5 separate regions of the Homo sapiens genome follow, and regions 1, 2, 4 and 5 are each linked to region 3. The links are contacts of gene promoters, found by promoter capture Hi-C in blood cells and fetal thymus (Javierre and others, 2016). All regions are on one chromosome and are shown on one strand. The core of a region is centred on a gene start or on the middle of the fragment in contact, and the rest is flanking DNA. Distances in the headings are between cores, read along the strand shown.

The links. Contacts are between HindIII fragments. The CHiCAGO score rates a contact against its expected background, and 5 or more counts as called.
Region 1: a contact is called between a fragment that was not itself captured here and the fragment with the promoter of TMEM121B in region 3, in 6 of 17 cell types (endothelial precursors, M0 macrophages, M2 macrophages and 3 more). The highest score is 9.2, in endothelial precursors.
Region 2: a contact is called between a fragment that was not itself captured here and the fragment with the promoter of TMEM121B in region 3, in 11 of 17 cell types (naive B cells, total B cells, M0 macrophages and 8 more). The highest score is 8.0, in naive B cells.
Region 4: a fragment that was not itself captured here is called in contact with the fragment with the promoter of TMEM121B in region 3 in 3 of 17 cell types (total B cells, naive B cells and total CD8 T cells); the score reaches 6.7 in total B cells.
Region 5: a fragment that was not itself captured here is called in contact with the fragment with the promoter of TMEM121B in region 3 in 1 of 17 cell types (M2 macrophages); the score reaches 5.0 in M2 macrophages.

What each region holds. Positions count from the first base shown.
Region 1 is chr22:17,525,074-17,527,773 of GRCh38, forward strand. All of the region lies in intron 9 of CECR2 (CECR2 histone acetyl-lysine reader), which reads left to right. Among named protein-coding and RNA genes, the nearest start is that of SLC25A18, 37 kb to the right of the region's middle. The HindIII fragment of the contact is 934 bases long and covers 953-1,886 here.
Region 2 is chr22:17,488,068-17,490,767 of GRCh38, forward strand. All of the region lies in intron 2 of CECR2 (CECR2 histone acetyl-lysine reader), which reads left to right. Among named protein-coding and RNA genes, the nearest start is that of SLC25A18, 74 kb to the right of the region's middle. The HindIII fragment of the contact is 5,266 bases long and covers 1-2,700 here.
Region 3 is chr22:17,120,042-17,122,741 of GRCh38, forward strand. TMEM121B (transmembrane protein 121B) reads right to left here and starts at 1,319. Exons shown (of 1, transcript NM_031890.4): 1 at 1-1,319. The coding sequence starts at 1,086. It overlaps LINC01664 (long intergenic non-protein coding RNA 1664), which reads left to right and starts at 1,554. Exons shown (of 4, transcript NR_103793.1): 1 at 1,554-1,998. RefSeq lists a silencer at 1,031-1,160 and an enhancer at 1,746-2,277. The HindIII fragment of the contact is 5,742 bases long and covers 1-2,429 here.
Region 4 is chr22:17,440,460-17,443,159 of GRCh38, forward strand. The region is part of intron 1 of CECR2 (CECR2 histone acetyl-lysine reader); the gene reads left to right. Among named protein-coding and RNA genes, the nearest start is that of CECR2, 72 kb to the left of the region's middle. The HindIII fragment of the contact is 733 bases long and covers 1,067-1,799 here.
Region 5 is chr22:17,505,444-17,508,143 of GRCh38, forward strand. The region is part of intron 7 of CECR2 (CECR2 histone acetyl-lysine reader); the gene reads left to right. Among named protein-coding and RNA genes, the nearest start is that of SLC25A18, 57 kb to the right of the region's middle. The HindIII fragment of the contact is 8,417 bases long and covers 1-2,700 here.

The DNA.
Region 1 (2,700 bases), core at 170-2,669, 410 kb after region 3:
GGGTTTTCGAGACCAGCCTGACCAACATGGAGAAACCCCATCTCTACTAAAAATACAAAAAATTAGCTGGGCGTGGTGGGGCATGCCTGTAATGCCAGCTACTCAGGAGGCTGAGGCAGGAGAATCGCTTGAACCCAGGAAGTGGAGGTTGCGGTGAGCCAAGATCGTGCCATTGTACTCCAGCCTGGGCAACAAGAGTGAAACTCCATCTCCAAAAAAAAAAAAAAAAAAAAAAAAAAAAAGAAAGGAAGGGAGGGAGGGAAAAGAAAAGAAAGAAAGAAATGATGGCTGGGCACAGTGGCTCACGCCTGTAATCCCAGCACTTTGGGAAGCCAAAGTGGCCGAATCACTTGAGGTCAGGAGTTTGAGACAGCCTGGCCAACATGGCCAAACGTGGTAGCTCACGCCTGTAATCCCAGCTACTCAGGAGGATGAGGTGGGAGAATTGCTTGAACCCCGGAGGTGGAAGTTGCAGTGAGCCGAGATCGTGCTACTGCACTCCAGCCTGGGCGACAGAGCAAGACTCTGTCTCAATAAAAAAAACAACCCTTAGTGCATATAATCTACAGGTTTAGCCTGTGTCATACTATGTAGTATATCTCACTTGTAAGATCTTCCATAATTGGCTATGTCCAGTGCCACATTTAAATTCCTCAGGACATAATAACTGGCTTTTATTTGTTTATATTTTTTAGTGGAATTGTGTTTTTTTATTTAATAGGGTCCTTATTGGGTACACCTGTCATTTTAATTTATATAGGCAGGTCCAAAACTCATTTTTATGGCTCAGTTTCTGTAATGTAAGATTAATAATGCCTGTATTGTAGTCCCATCTACAGAAGTCACAAATAAAATTAAATCCTAGGAATTAACCAAAGAAGTGAAAGAGCTCTATAATGAAAACTATAAAACATGGAGGAAACAAATTGAAAAGAACACCCAAAAACTGGAAAGCTTTCTACGTTCATGGATAACAAGAATCAGTATTCTTAAAATGTCCATAGTACTCAAAGTAATCTACAGATTCAATGCAATGTCTACCAGAATACCAATGACATTCTTCACAAAAATAGAAAAAAAAATCCTTTAATTTATATGGACCCACAAAAGACCCAGAATAGGCAAAGCTATCCTAAGCAAAAATAACAAACCTGGAGGAATTACCTGACTTCAAATTGTATTTCAGACCTGTGGGGACCAAAACAATATGGGGATCTGGCATAAAAACCAACACACAGACAAATGGAACAGAATAGAGAATCCAGAAACAAGTCCACACACGTACAGCGAACTCATTTTCAACACACGTGCTAAGAACATACACTGGGGAAAAGAGTCTCTTCTACAAGTGGTGCTGGGGAAACTGGATATCCATAAGCAGAAGAATGAAACTAGACCCCTATCTCCTGCCACATACAAAAATAAAATCAAAGTGGATTAAATAATTATATCTAAGGCCGGGCGTGACGACTTATGCCTGTAATCCCAGCACTTTGGGAGGCCAAGGCGGGTGAATTACAAGGTCAAGAGTTCAAGGCCAGCCTGGCCAAGGTGTTGAAACCCCGTCTCTACTAAAAATACAAAAATTAGCCGGGCACGGTGGCAGGCACCGGTAATCCCAGCTACTCAGGAGGCTGAGGCAAGAAAATCGCTTGAACCTGGGCAGCAGAGGTTGCAGTGAGCTAAGATTGCATCACTGCACTCCAACCTGTGTGACAGAGTAAGACTCCATCTCAAAAAAAAAAAAAAAAAAAAAAGAATTATATCTAAGACCTCAAATTATGAAACTCTACAAGAAAAAACGTTGGAGAAACCCTCTAGGACATTGATTTCAAGCACAGGCACCCAAAGCAAAAATGGACAAATGGGATCACATCAAGTTAAAAAGCTTCTGCACAGCAAAGGAAACAACCAGCAAAGTGAAGAGACAACCCACAGAATGGGAGAAAACATTTGCAAACTGCCCAGTTGACAAAGGATGAATAACCAGAATGTAGAAGGAGCTGAAATAACTCTTAGGAAAAAGTCTAATAATCGGATATTAAAATGGGCAAAATATTTGAATAGAGATTTCTCAAAAGAAGTCATACAAATGCAGACGAGGCCAGGCATGTTGAGTCATGCTTGTAAGCTCAGCACTTTGGGAGGCCAAGGCTGGCAGATTGTTTTAGCACAGGAGTTCAAGACCAGCCTCGGCAACACGGTAAAACCCCATCTCTACAAAAAATACAAAAATTAACCGAGCATGGTTGTTCATACCTGTAGTGCCAGCTACTTGGGAAGCTGAGATGGGCAGATAGCTTGAGCCTGGGAGGTCCAGGCTCCAGTGAGCTGAGATCATGCCACTGCACTCCATCCTGGGCAATAGAGCGAGACCCTGTCTCAAAAAAATAAAAATAAATTAAAAAACAAGCCAGGTGTGGTGGCTCATGCTTGTAATCCCAGCACTTTGGGAGGCCGAGGCGGGCAGATGACTTGAGATCAGGAGTTCAAGACCAACCTGGCCAACATGGCAAAACCCTGCCTCTACTAAAAATACTAAAATTAGCTAGGCATGGTGGCACACGCCTGTAATCCCAGCTACTCAGGAGGCTGAGGCAGGAGAATTGCTTGAACCTGGGAGACAGAGGTGGCAGTGAGCAGAGATCAAGCCAAGACTTCATTCCAGCCTGGGCAATACAGCAAGATTCTGTCTCAAAA
Region 2 (2,700 bases), core at 76-2,575, 370 kb after region 3:
GACAGCGTTTCACCATGTTGACCAGGCTGGTCTCAAACTCCTGACCTCAGGTGATCTGCCCCCCCTTGGCCTCCCAAAGTGCTGGGATTACAGGCGTGAGCCACCGCACCCGGCCTCATTTAATTTTTAATTATGGATCTAGCATTGCGTAATAGATTCCCTAATTTAGATCCCTTATAAACAAACATTTAGTGTTTTGGGTTCTCTTTACAGAAATATCTGTCATCTTTTTGGAAATGACAATACTTCTGTTAAGTACGTTCATCGTGTCTTTTTTAACATAGGCCAGTGTTTTGTAACAAATGAGGGCACCACATAGTCACTATCCTACTGAAGAAAATAGACATTTCTGTCTTCCCAGAAAGTTTCCTTTGTAGTCAGTCTTCCCCATACCTACATTGTACACCTGGCAACCACTGACGACATTTTTATCACTATAGTTGGAGCCTAACCTGTTCTAGAACTGTATGAATGGGATCACACAGTGTGAAATGAACTCACATCAGCTTCTTTCATTCACATAGTGCCTGTATGATATTCACCCATGCCATTGTTTGTATCAGTGGTTTATTCCTTTGAGGGGGGTGGGGGACTAAATTGTATCTAGTGAAAAATATATCACAATTTATTGAATCTGTTCTTGGGATGAGCACTTAGGTTGCTTCCAGTTGGAGCCTATTATGAATGAAGCTGCTGTGAACATTTGCATACAAATGCTTGTGTGCACTTAATTTCATTTCTCTTGGGAATTGCTGGCGGGTCACATGGTAAAAGTATGTTTGACTTAAACTGTGAAATTATTTTCCAAACACTTGCAACATTTACGTTTCCACCAGCAATATCTGAACAGTCCAGTTGCTTCATATCTTTTTAAATTTTTATTTACTTATTTATTTGTTTGAGACAAGAGTTTTGCTCTTTTTGCCCAGGCTGGAGTGCAATGGTGCTATCTCTGCTCACTGCAACCTCCACCTCAAGTGATTCTCCTGCCTCAGCCTCCCAAGTAGCTGGGATTACAGGCATGCGCCAGCTAATTTTTTGTATTTAGTAGAGACGGGGTTTCACCATGTTAATCAAGCTGGTCTTGAACTCCTGACCTCAGGTGATCACCCGCCTCGGCCTCCCAAAGTACTGGGATTACAGGCATGAGCCACCTCGCCCGGCCTAGTTACTTCCTATCTTTGCCAACATCTGCTGTTTTTAATTTTACTAATCCTATTGTGTTGAAAGTGGCAGCTCATTGTGGGTTTAATTTGCATTTCCCCGATGACTAGTAATGTGGAGTGGTTATTCATGTGCTTACCATAAATTTGTATATGTCTTTTTTGGTGAAATATTTGGCCAAGTGTTTTACTTATTTCTTTTAAATTAGGGATGCTTATTTAATTTATTTATTGACTTTTTTGAGACAGGGTTCCCACTCTGTTACCCAGGCTGGAGTGCAGTGCTGTGATCATAGCCCACTGCAGCCTCGACCTCCTGGGCTCAAACAGTCCTCCGGCTTCAGCCTCCTGAGTAGCTGGGACTATAGGTATGCTCCATCACACCCTGCTTATTTAAAGCATATTTGTTGTAGAGACAGGTCTTGATATATTGCCCAGGCTGGTCTTGAACTCATGGCCTCAAGTTGTCCTCCAGCCTCAGCCTCCCAAAGTGCTGGAATTACAGGCGTGAGCAGCCATTCCAGGCCTTATCAACTTTTTAAATGTTTACTAAGGAACTGTTTTATATTATTAATTTTCTTTACTCTTTGCTTTTTTATTTTATTGATTTCTCTTTTTTATTTCCTCTGTTTACTTTGGCTTTAGCTTGCTCTTTTTTTTTTTTTGCTTCTTTGGAGTACTGTTTTTGAGCCTTTTTTCAAAAAACAGGCATTTAAAGCTATAAATTTTCCCTAAAAAACTTGTAAATTTCCTTCTAACCCATAGTTGGCTGCATCCTGCGAATTTTGATGTTTATATTATTGTTTAAAACATGCTCTCCTTTATTTCTTCTGTGACCCAAAAGTGTATTATTTAAATTCGTGATTTAGTATGTTAGTGGTAATACTGTTGAGATCTGTTCCTTACTGTTTTTTTTTTGTGTGTGTGTGTGTGTGTGTTTGGTCTATTAATGAGAAGCCAGTATTAAAATCTCTCTGATTGTGGATCTATTTCTCCCATTAGTTGTGCCCATTTTGTCTCATGGGTTGTGGTGTCCTGTTATTGGATGTGTAGCGGTAGCTTTGTTATATAGTCCTGGGAAGTTGTTCCATTTCTTCTTATGTGACACTCTGTCTCCACATCTGCTTTGTCTCATATTAATCCTCAGCTTTCTCATGCTTACTGTGCCTGGTAGATCATTTTCTATCCTTTTAATCTTTGTATTTTTATTTATTTATTTTTTGAGATGGCGTCTTGCTCTGTCACCCAGGCTGGAGTGCAGTGGTGTGATCTCAGCTCACTGCAACCTCCGCCTCCTGAGTGCAAGCAATTCTCCTGCATCAGCCTCCCGAGTAGCTGGGATTACAGGTGCATGCCACCACGCCCGGCTAATTTTTTTTTTATTTTTATTTTTTATTTTTAGTAGAGACAGGGTTTCACCATATTGGCCAGGCTGGTCTCAAACTCCTGACTTCATGATCTGTCCACCTCAGCCTCCCAAAGTGCTAGGATTACAGGCATGAGCCACCATGCCAGGCCTCCTTGTGTTTTTTTAAAG
Region 3 (2,700 bases), core at 69-2,568:
CAGGGGCACCGACAGCGCCATGGTGAGACGGAAGCCCGTGGTGCCGAAGGGCGCGCGTAGCTCGATGAGGTCTAGGATGGACGTGCCCAGGATCAGCACCACCTTGGGAGTGAAGGCGATGGAGTAGATAAGCCAGGCCAGGTAGGCGAAGGCGAACTCGCCCGCTGCCGCGGCCGCCCCCAGGCCGCCCCCCGCGCCGCCGGCGCCCCCGCGGGCTCCGCGTGCCTTGGCCCCAGCGGTAGCGGCCGAGGGGGCGGGCAGATGCAGGGGCGGCGCGGCGTGGTGGTGGTGCAGGTGGTGGTTGTGCGCGCCGCTGGCTGCGCCGCCCCGACGGCCCCGGCTGTTCTTGGCGAAGAAGATGGCCCAGCCCACCACCACCACCAGGTCAGTGGCGATCCAGGAGCACCAGTACAGGTCGGTGACGGCGATGAGGTACAGGTCCAGCAGGCCGCCCTGCGCCAGCAGCAGCACCACGGACAGCGCCTGGTAGCCCCAGCGGCACCTGGGACTGGGGGCGCAGCCGCGGCGCCGACCTCTGCGGCCGGGGCGGTCTGGGCAGCCGCAGCAGCAGCAACACGGGCAGCAGGAGGCGCCGCTGCCGGTCCCGGTGCCGCCCGCGCCCCCCGCCGAGCGGCTCCCGGGGCCCCCGACGGCCCCGGCCGCGGCGCCCCCGCCGAAGTCCGCGGCTGTCATGCTGCAGGAGGAGGTGGGCGTGGAGGTGGAGGAGGAGGTGGCCGCTGAGGAGGAGAAGGCGACAGGCGCGGGGCCGGCGGGGGCGCCCACCTGAGCCGGCGGCCCCAGGAGCGCGGCGTTGGGCACCAGCGGCTTGCTGACGCTGAGGCTCTCGTCGTCGTCCTCGCGCTCGGCGCCCGTGCTGCTGCTCGGGGAGCCGCCGCCCCCGCCGCGTCTGCCGCCGCCTCCCCCGCGGCTGGTGCTGGTGCTGGTGCTGCTGTCGCCGGAGCCTCTCCGGCCGCGGAAGGAGCCCCCGCGGAGGAAGAGGGGCTGCAGCCGGGCGGCTGCCGGGGGCGGCGGGAAGGAACCGGACGCGGAGGAGACCGAGCGAGGGTGGCCGAGCGCCGGGCGCATTGTCCTCCGAGGGGCTCTGGGGCCGCCCAGCTGTTCCCTCCCCGCCAACCCCGGGCGGGCGAGGCGGGCTAGGCGGCCGAGGGGAGCCGGGGCCCGCCGCCTCCCCAGCAGTGGGGACTCGCACCTGGGCCGGGCGGCGGCGAGATCCGGACTGGAGCCACTGGACTGGGCGAGCCGGGCCGGGCGGCAGGGAGAGGGGGCAGGCGGTGAACCGAGCGGACCGCGGTGAAGACAGGCGAGGCGGGGGCGGGGCGGGGCGGGGCGGGGAGCGAGTCCCGCCGGGAGGGAGGGAGGCTGGCGGCGGGGAAACCAGGACTGGATTCGAGGGGGAGAGGAAGCAGCGAGACCAGAGGAGGAGAAAGCGCGGCGCGCTGGATCAACGGGAAGAGAAGGGGCGGGGGTGCAGTGCGTCACAGTCGGGTCGGGAGCCCTGTGGCCTGGAGGAAGCGGGAGGAGGCGCGGGCAGCCGCCAGGGCGAGGCGACCCGGTGCGGGGGGACTCCCATGGAGCGCGGACTCCTAAGGAAGTCGCTGGGAATCCCACCGGCTGTACCGCAGGGCGTTAGTACCTAGATGGCTTCGGTGCCCCCAAGCGATGGGCTCAAGCTACAGGGCGGGCTTTGCACCTGGCCTTCTCAGCTCTGAGGCAGGCAGTGGGCAGCTTCGCCTCCACCCTCCGTCCAGCGCCCTTCCCATGGGGCCATCCGCCTCTCCCTAAGGCACTAAAAACCAGTGGAGGAGTCAGGCCATGTTGGCAAAAAGGGCTCGGGCAGCAGCCCCAGACCTATAGTCCTAAATATCCATGTACCCAGCCCTGGGGTCGCGAGCCATCTCAGGGACGACCCGATTCCAGCGGATGGAGAAGTTCCCTGAAAACACCTGCCTGGGAGGAGAGACGAGGGAACGAGATTGGGCAAGTGGCATCCGCCCAGCGGGCTTCTCAAAGGTTTTTAAAGCAGAATGGGACGTAATAGGAAGATGTGTCTAGCAGAGAGTAAAATAAAGGGGCATTTAGAGGTGTGGGCACCTGGATGAAAACAAAGGCTCCAAAGGGATGATGGTGAGGGTTACAGCCCACCACAGTAGACAGAGACACCAAGGAAGGAATGCAGTCAGTGGCCCTGCGTAGACAGTCTCAGGAGAGAGCACACCAGCTCACCCCAGGACTCATCCAAGGCTGGGGATGGATGTCGATGCAGCAACTCTGGAAGGCAGAAGGTAGAGTGCTGCCTTTAGGGGTTTAAGGGAGAAGGAAATGACTAGAGCAGTTGGGGCTCAAAAACAATCTGAGGTTCACCAATAATGGAAACATCCCATTCCCAGCCCCATGAAAACAAGGCAGAAAGCTTGCCTGCCCTATTGGCCTCTGCACCCTTGTGGGGCCTGTGGGCTCCCTGATTTCATGACCTTTGAAGCTGCTGCTGCGGGCTCATCTCCCCTAGGTAACAGCTTGCAGCGTGATAACACCATGCAGTGTGAGGGAGCTGTATGCAGTGGAGCCGCAGGGGTTAGTCAGGCCTCGCCCCTAAATCTGCCTCTTAAATAAGAGTCCGTTTCAGCCAAACCTGCCTTTTCCAGTTCCGTGGAGGTCAGTCTGCACAGCCAATCCCTGGTA
Region 4 (2,700 bases), core at 183-2,682, 320 kb after region 3:
AGACAAAGTGCCTCAGAGAAATGACTCTCTGTAGGTCTCACTAGTAACTAAGGAACTAAAATTTGAGTGGAATTCAGGTCTGTCCTTACACTTATTATGATATCCCACACTGTCTATTCCCTGTCTCTTGAAGTGAAGCTGGGACTTTTATTGATTTATTGATCTGATATCTGACTTGAAGTAATGAGAGGGAAGGTTGTATAGCATTATATAGCAAAGTGATGTAAGAAAACAAGAAAAACTTGATTTCAAGTCTCCGAACAGATTTATTAGAAACAGAAATTTGACTACCACCCTCTGATCCCTACCCCTCCACTCCTTTCTCAACATGATGATTATACAATCATTACAGACATCCCCTGTGTTTTCTGGGACTTTTTTTTAGTAACCAAATGTTCAAGAAAGTGTAGTGCCTTGTATCTGTTGATGATTATATTTCTAATTTCATGGGTATTCAGCTGACTGTCAGGTCTTATTAACACTGTTTTTGGGGGGGAGGGGCAGGGGGCAGGGGGCGGGATGGAGTCTCACTCTGTCACCCAGACTGGAGTGCAGTGGAGTGATCTCAGCTTACCACAACCCGGGTTCAAGTGATTGTCCTGCCACAGCCTCCAGAGTAGTTGGGATTACAGGTGCATGCCACCACGCCCGGCTAATTTTTATATTTTTAATAGAGATGGGGTTTCACCATGTTGGCCAGGCTGGTCTCGAACTCCTGACCTCAGGTGATCCGCCTGCCTTGGCTTCTCAAAAGTGCTGGGATTACAGGCGTGAGCCACCATGCCTGGCCTATTAACACATTAAAATGATGCGTGTTGAGGGAGCAAGTATACTGGTTGTTGTTGGGAATCTGGGATGGCCCTAGATAGATCTTTCCTGCTGCCAGATATAGGAGGAATATGATGGAACGCACAGCTGTGATACTGTACTAGGCTGATAATCTTAACACAGAGCCCTTCAATTTTATTTTAGTTTAGCAAATAATATTTGTATTGTAGTATGGTAATTTTAAATCACTCACCATGATTTGTATAGAATAGTGCGTCATTTATTCTAACGTGATGAAAGCTTTCTTTTAAAAAGTAGCCGGGGGAGATTGACTAGGGGTTAAATGCTTTCCCTGTGTCTTACTCTGTGGACCCCACCCCCCGTTACTTGAATGAATGAATGAATCCTTCTTTTTTGAGGATATTGCCAGAGGATAATAAGTTATCTAGATGTCTCAGTCCTGGATCTATGAATAGATTGTTTTTCCAGTCTTGATAGATTATTTCTGGTTTGAAGAATTTTACATGGAAACAAGATTAAGAAAGATGATAAATAATTGTTTGGCTAAAGTCCTTTATGAAACAGAATTTACAGAAATGTGATTAAGATGTATAACTCACCTTGTAAGAATTTCATGGAACATGTTGAAGTATAAAATAAAGTTCCATAGGGAGGTGATATCACACACCATACTCTGTCTTACAATTTTTGTCTCTCACAAGGAAAGGATTTGGATGTTCTGAACATATTTCTCTGCAGGAAGCGGGTGGCAGACCTGTTGACTTCATTTTCATTGACCATCTTCTACTAGAATCAAACTCTGGTCTCTTTGAAATTATACAAAGTTGGGAAGCTGTTTACATTATCAACAGCTTTACCTATTTTGAATTCAGAAGAAGATTCAAGGTGGGAAAGACAGAAAAAACCGCAAAACAAGAGCATGTCATACTAGAAGAGTTCCGTGTGAAATTCAGAATTTGGTCCCCTTAACACTATTCACTTTGGAGCTCATGGGAATCCATGGTGAGGGAAGCTTATTAAAAAATGCAGATCAGGCCAGGTGTGGTGGCTCACACCTATAATCCCAGAACTTCAGGAGGCCAAGATGGGAGAGGATAGCTTGAGGCTAGGAGTTCTGGAGCAGCCTGAGCAACATAGCGAGACCCCCATTTCTACAAATACATATATATTTTTAAATTAGTTGGGCGTAGTTGATGCACATCTTGTAGTCCTAGCTACTAGGGAGGCCGAGGCAGGAGGATCACTGGAGCCCAGGAGTTCAAGGCTTGCAGTGAGCTTTGATCACACCACAGGTTTTTTTGTTTGTTTTGTGTTTTTTGAGATGGAATCTCACTCTGTCGCCCAGGCTGGAGTGCAGTGGTGCGGTCTCAGCTCACTGCAGCCTCCACCTCCCGGATTCAAGCAGTTCTCTGCCTCAGCCTCCCGAGTAGCTGGGATTACAGGCGCCCGCCACCACCGCCTGGCTAATTTTTGTATTTTTAGTAGAGACGGGGTTTCACCATCTTGGCCAGGCTGGTCTTGAACTCCTGACCTCATGATCCACCCTCCTCGGCCTCCCAAAGTGCTGGGATTACAGGAGTGAGCCACCGCGCCTGGCCAATCACTAGATGATAGTAGTAATTCACAGGCTTCCCTAGAATCATTCACATTTTTGCTTCATGACTGAATGAGTCATAGGTGTTAATGGCATTTTGCATTTGCAGTTGTTTTATTTTTTAAACTTTATCTTGGAAGAAAACCCTTTCTTCTATTGGAATAGTGGAACCTTTTTCTATTCTTTCATCAGGCTCCATTTACTTGCTGTCCAGTCTGCCAGTGGTATGTCCTGGTGTGTTTCTTTGTACTGTTTGCTTCTGAGCGTCTCTTCCTGCCCTCTAGCTCGTTTTCTTAAAGGACAAACGAAACTTCTCA
Region 5 (2,700 bases), core at 14-2,513, 390 kb after region 3:
AAGCTATAGTCTCATAAACCATATGCCCCATATTATCATGCATGTACACCCTACTTCATGCATTTTCAAACATCCTTCATCCTCTTTTTCCTTTTTTTTTTTTTTTTTTTTTTTGAGTCTCTCTCTGTCTCCCAGGCTGCAGTGCAGCGGTGCAATCTGAGTTCACTGCAACCTCTGCCTTCCAAGTTCAAGCGATTCTCCTGCCTCAGCCTCCTGAGTAGCTGGGATTATAGGCTCACACCACCACCACGCCCAGCTAATTTTTTGTGTTTTTAGTAGAGACAGGGTTTCACCATTTTGACCAGGCTGGTCTAGAACTCCTGACCTCAAGTGATATACCGCCTCAGCCTCCCAAAGTGCTGGGATTACAGGTGTGAGCCACTGCACCCGGCTTTTTTTTTTTTTTTTTTTTTTTTAAGGACAAGCTCTCTCACTTTGTCGCCCAGACTGGAATGCAGTAGTGTGGTCACAGCTCACTGTAGCCTCGATTTGCCAGGCTCATGTGATCCTCTCATCTCAACCTCCCAAGTAGCTGGGGACACAGGCTCGTGCCACCACACCCAGCTAATTATTTTTTATTTTTTGTAGAGACGAGGTCTTGCTCTGCTGCCTAGGCTTGTCCCAAACTCCTAGCCTCAATCTATCCTTCTGTCTTGGCTTCCCAAAGTGCTGGGATTATAGGCATGAGCCACTGTGCCCAGCTTTTATTGCTTTAAGACAGGGTCTTGCTCTATTTCCCAAGCTGGAGTACAGTGGTGCAGTCATAGCTCACTGCAGCCTCAATCTCCCAGGCCGAAGTGATCCTCTCGAGTAGCTGGGCCTGCAGGCACATGCCACCACGCCTGGCTAATCTTTTAATTTTATCTGTGCGTAGGGTTTCCCTATGTTGCCTGGGCTGGTCCTGAACTCCTGGGCTGAAGCACTCTTCCTGTCTTGGCCTCCCAAAGTGCTGGGATTACAGGTGTGAGCCACCACACCTGGCCCCCTCTCTACTTCCTTACCCATTTAAATACTACTCTCTCAAAAGCCTTACTTAAATGTCACTACGTCCATGAACTGTCCTTGTTTCCCCCAGCCTTTTGTCGCTTAACATGTTTCTTTATGCTTATTTTATATCTTTGTGAGTTCAGGCTTCTTCATCTCAAGGACCATGTCTTATCTTTTTAACAGCCACGACACTTAATGTCATTTCTTTTCATGTTTTTTTGTTTGTTTGTTTGTTTGTTTTGAGACAGAGACTCGCTCTGTCACTCAGGGTGGAGTGCAGTGGCACAATCTTGGCCCCCCGCAGCCTCCACCTCCTGGGTTCAAGCGATTCTCATGCCTCAGCCTCCCAAGTAGCTGGGACTATAGGCGTGCGCCACCATGCCTGGCTAATGTTTTTATATTTTTAGTAGAGATGGGGTTTCGCTGTGTTGGCCAGGCTGGTCTTGACTCCTGGCCACAAGTGATCCACCCACCTTGGCCTCCCAAGTGTTATGATTACAGGCGTGAGCTACCACGTTTAGCCTGCCTTGCCTTTTCTATGGTGGTTGGTTGATAATTATTCAGTTTGCTTATTTCATATCGATAATAATATTTCTGATTATTGATACATGTTAATAGAGGACCAGAAATATTTGACCACTTGCCAGTGAAATATGAAGAGAAAGTATTTGTAAATCATCACTGCAGTACCTACAGGGAGGCAAACATGTCAAATGTATTATTTAATTTATTGTAGATCTGGTGCTGTGTCTAACCCTTAAGCAGGTTGATGCTTTAGGGAAAGTCCTAGAAATTACCTTTCTCTAATAACGGGAACTTACAAACAGTGCTTCAAGACTTCCGCCGTCCTGGATGATCCAGAAAACCTCCGTTTCACCATCGGTGTACTTAAGTTCATGTACGATAATTGCATTCTGTTTTTGTGATCAGCAATTCACTGCAACAATTTTTCTAGGAATTAAAATATATAATCTAATTTTCTTAAAGTAACAATGATGTAAAGAGATAGTTTTTATGACTTTGTGTAACCTTGCATATGACTTTATTGATATCATCAGTCATGGCACATTAAATTATCTGGAAATATACCCAGTCACCTTAAGCCTTCTTTTATCATTTCTGCTTTTTTACTGCTATATTCAGCCTAACATTTTGGGGGATAGAAGAATTAAGGGGAAAAAAAACTTAAAGCATAAAACTGATGATTTTGATTAAAAATTTCAAGCATTGATTCTTTTCAAAAGGAGAAAAATTCAAATAAGGTAACCCTTAAATAGGGTAATCTTTAAATACAATTTTCAAGAACCATGGAGTTGCAGACCAGAAAGAAATAATGGATTTGATATTTTCAAAGAAATAGATAGTGCTTTTAAGTTCAAAAACCTCAATGAAGTCCTATTAACCAGAAGAATAGTATAGTAAGAAAAATCTAAATTGGGAAGTAGAAAATCTTAGCAGACTAATAATTAGGGAGTTCTCACAGAAGGATCGATTTATTCACAGGTAAAGTTTTCTAAACCTTCAAGGAAAAGATAACTTCCAAACATTTCCAAAATGAAAGAAATAACTGGAAGCTACTCTGTTCGTTCTGATATAGATATCTTTGAACGCCATACCTGATAAAATTAAACATACTCTCCTCATTCCATAGTATATACAATAATGCCCCAAGTAACCATGTTTTGGTCAATGACAAACCATTTATACCACTGT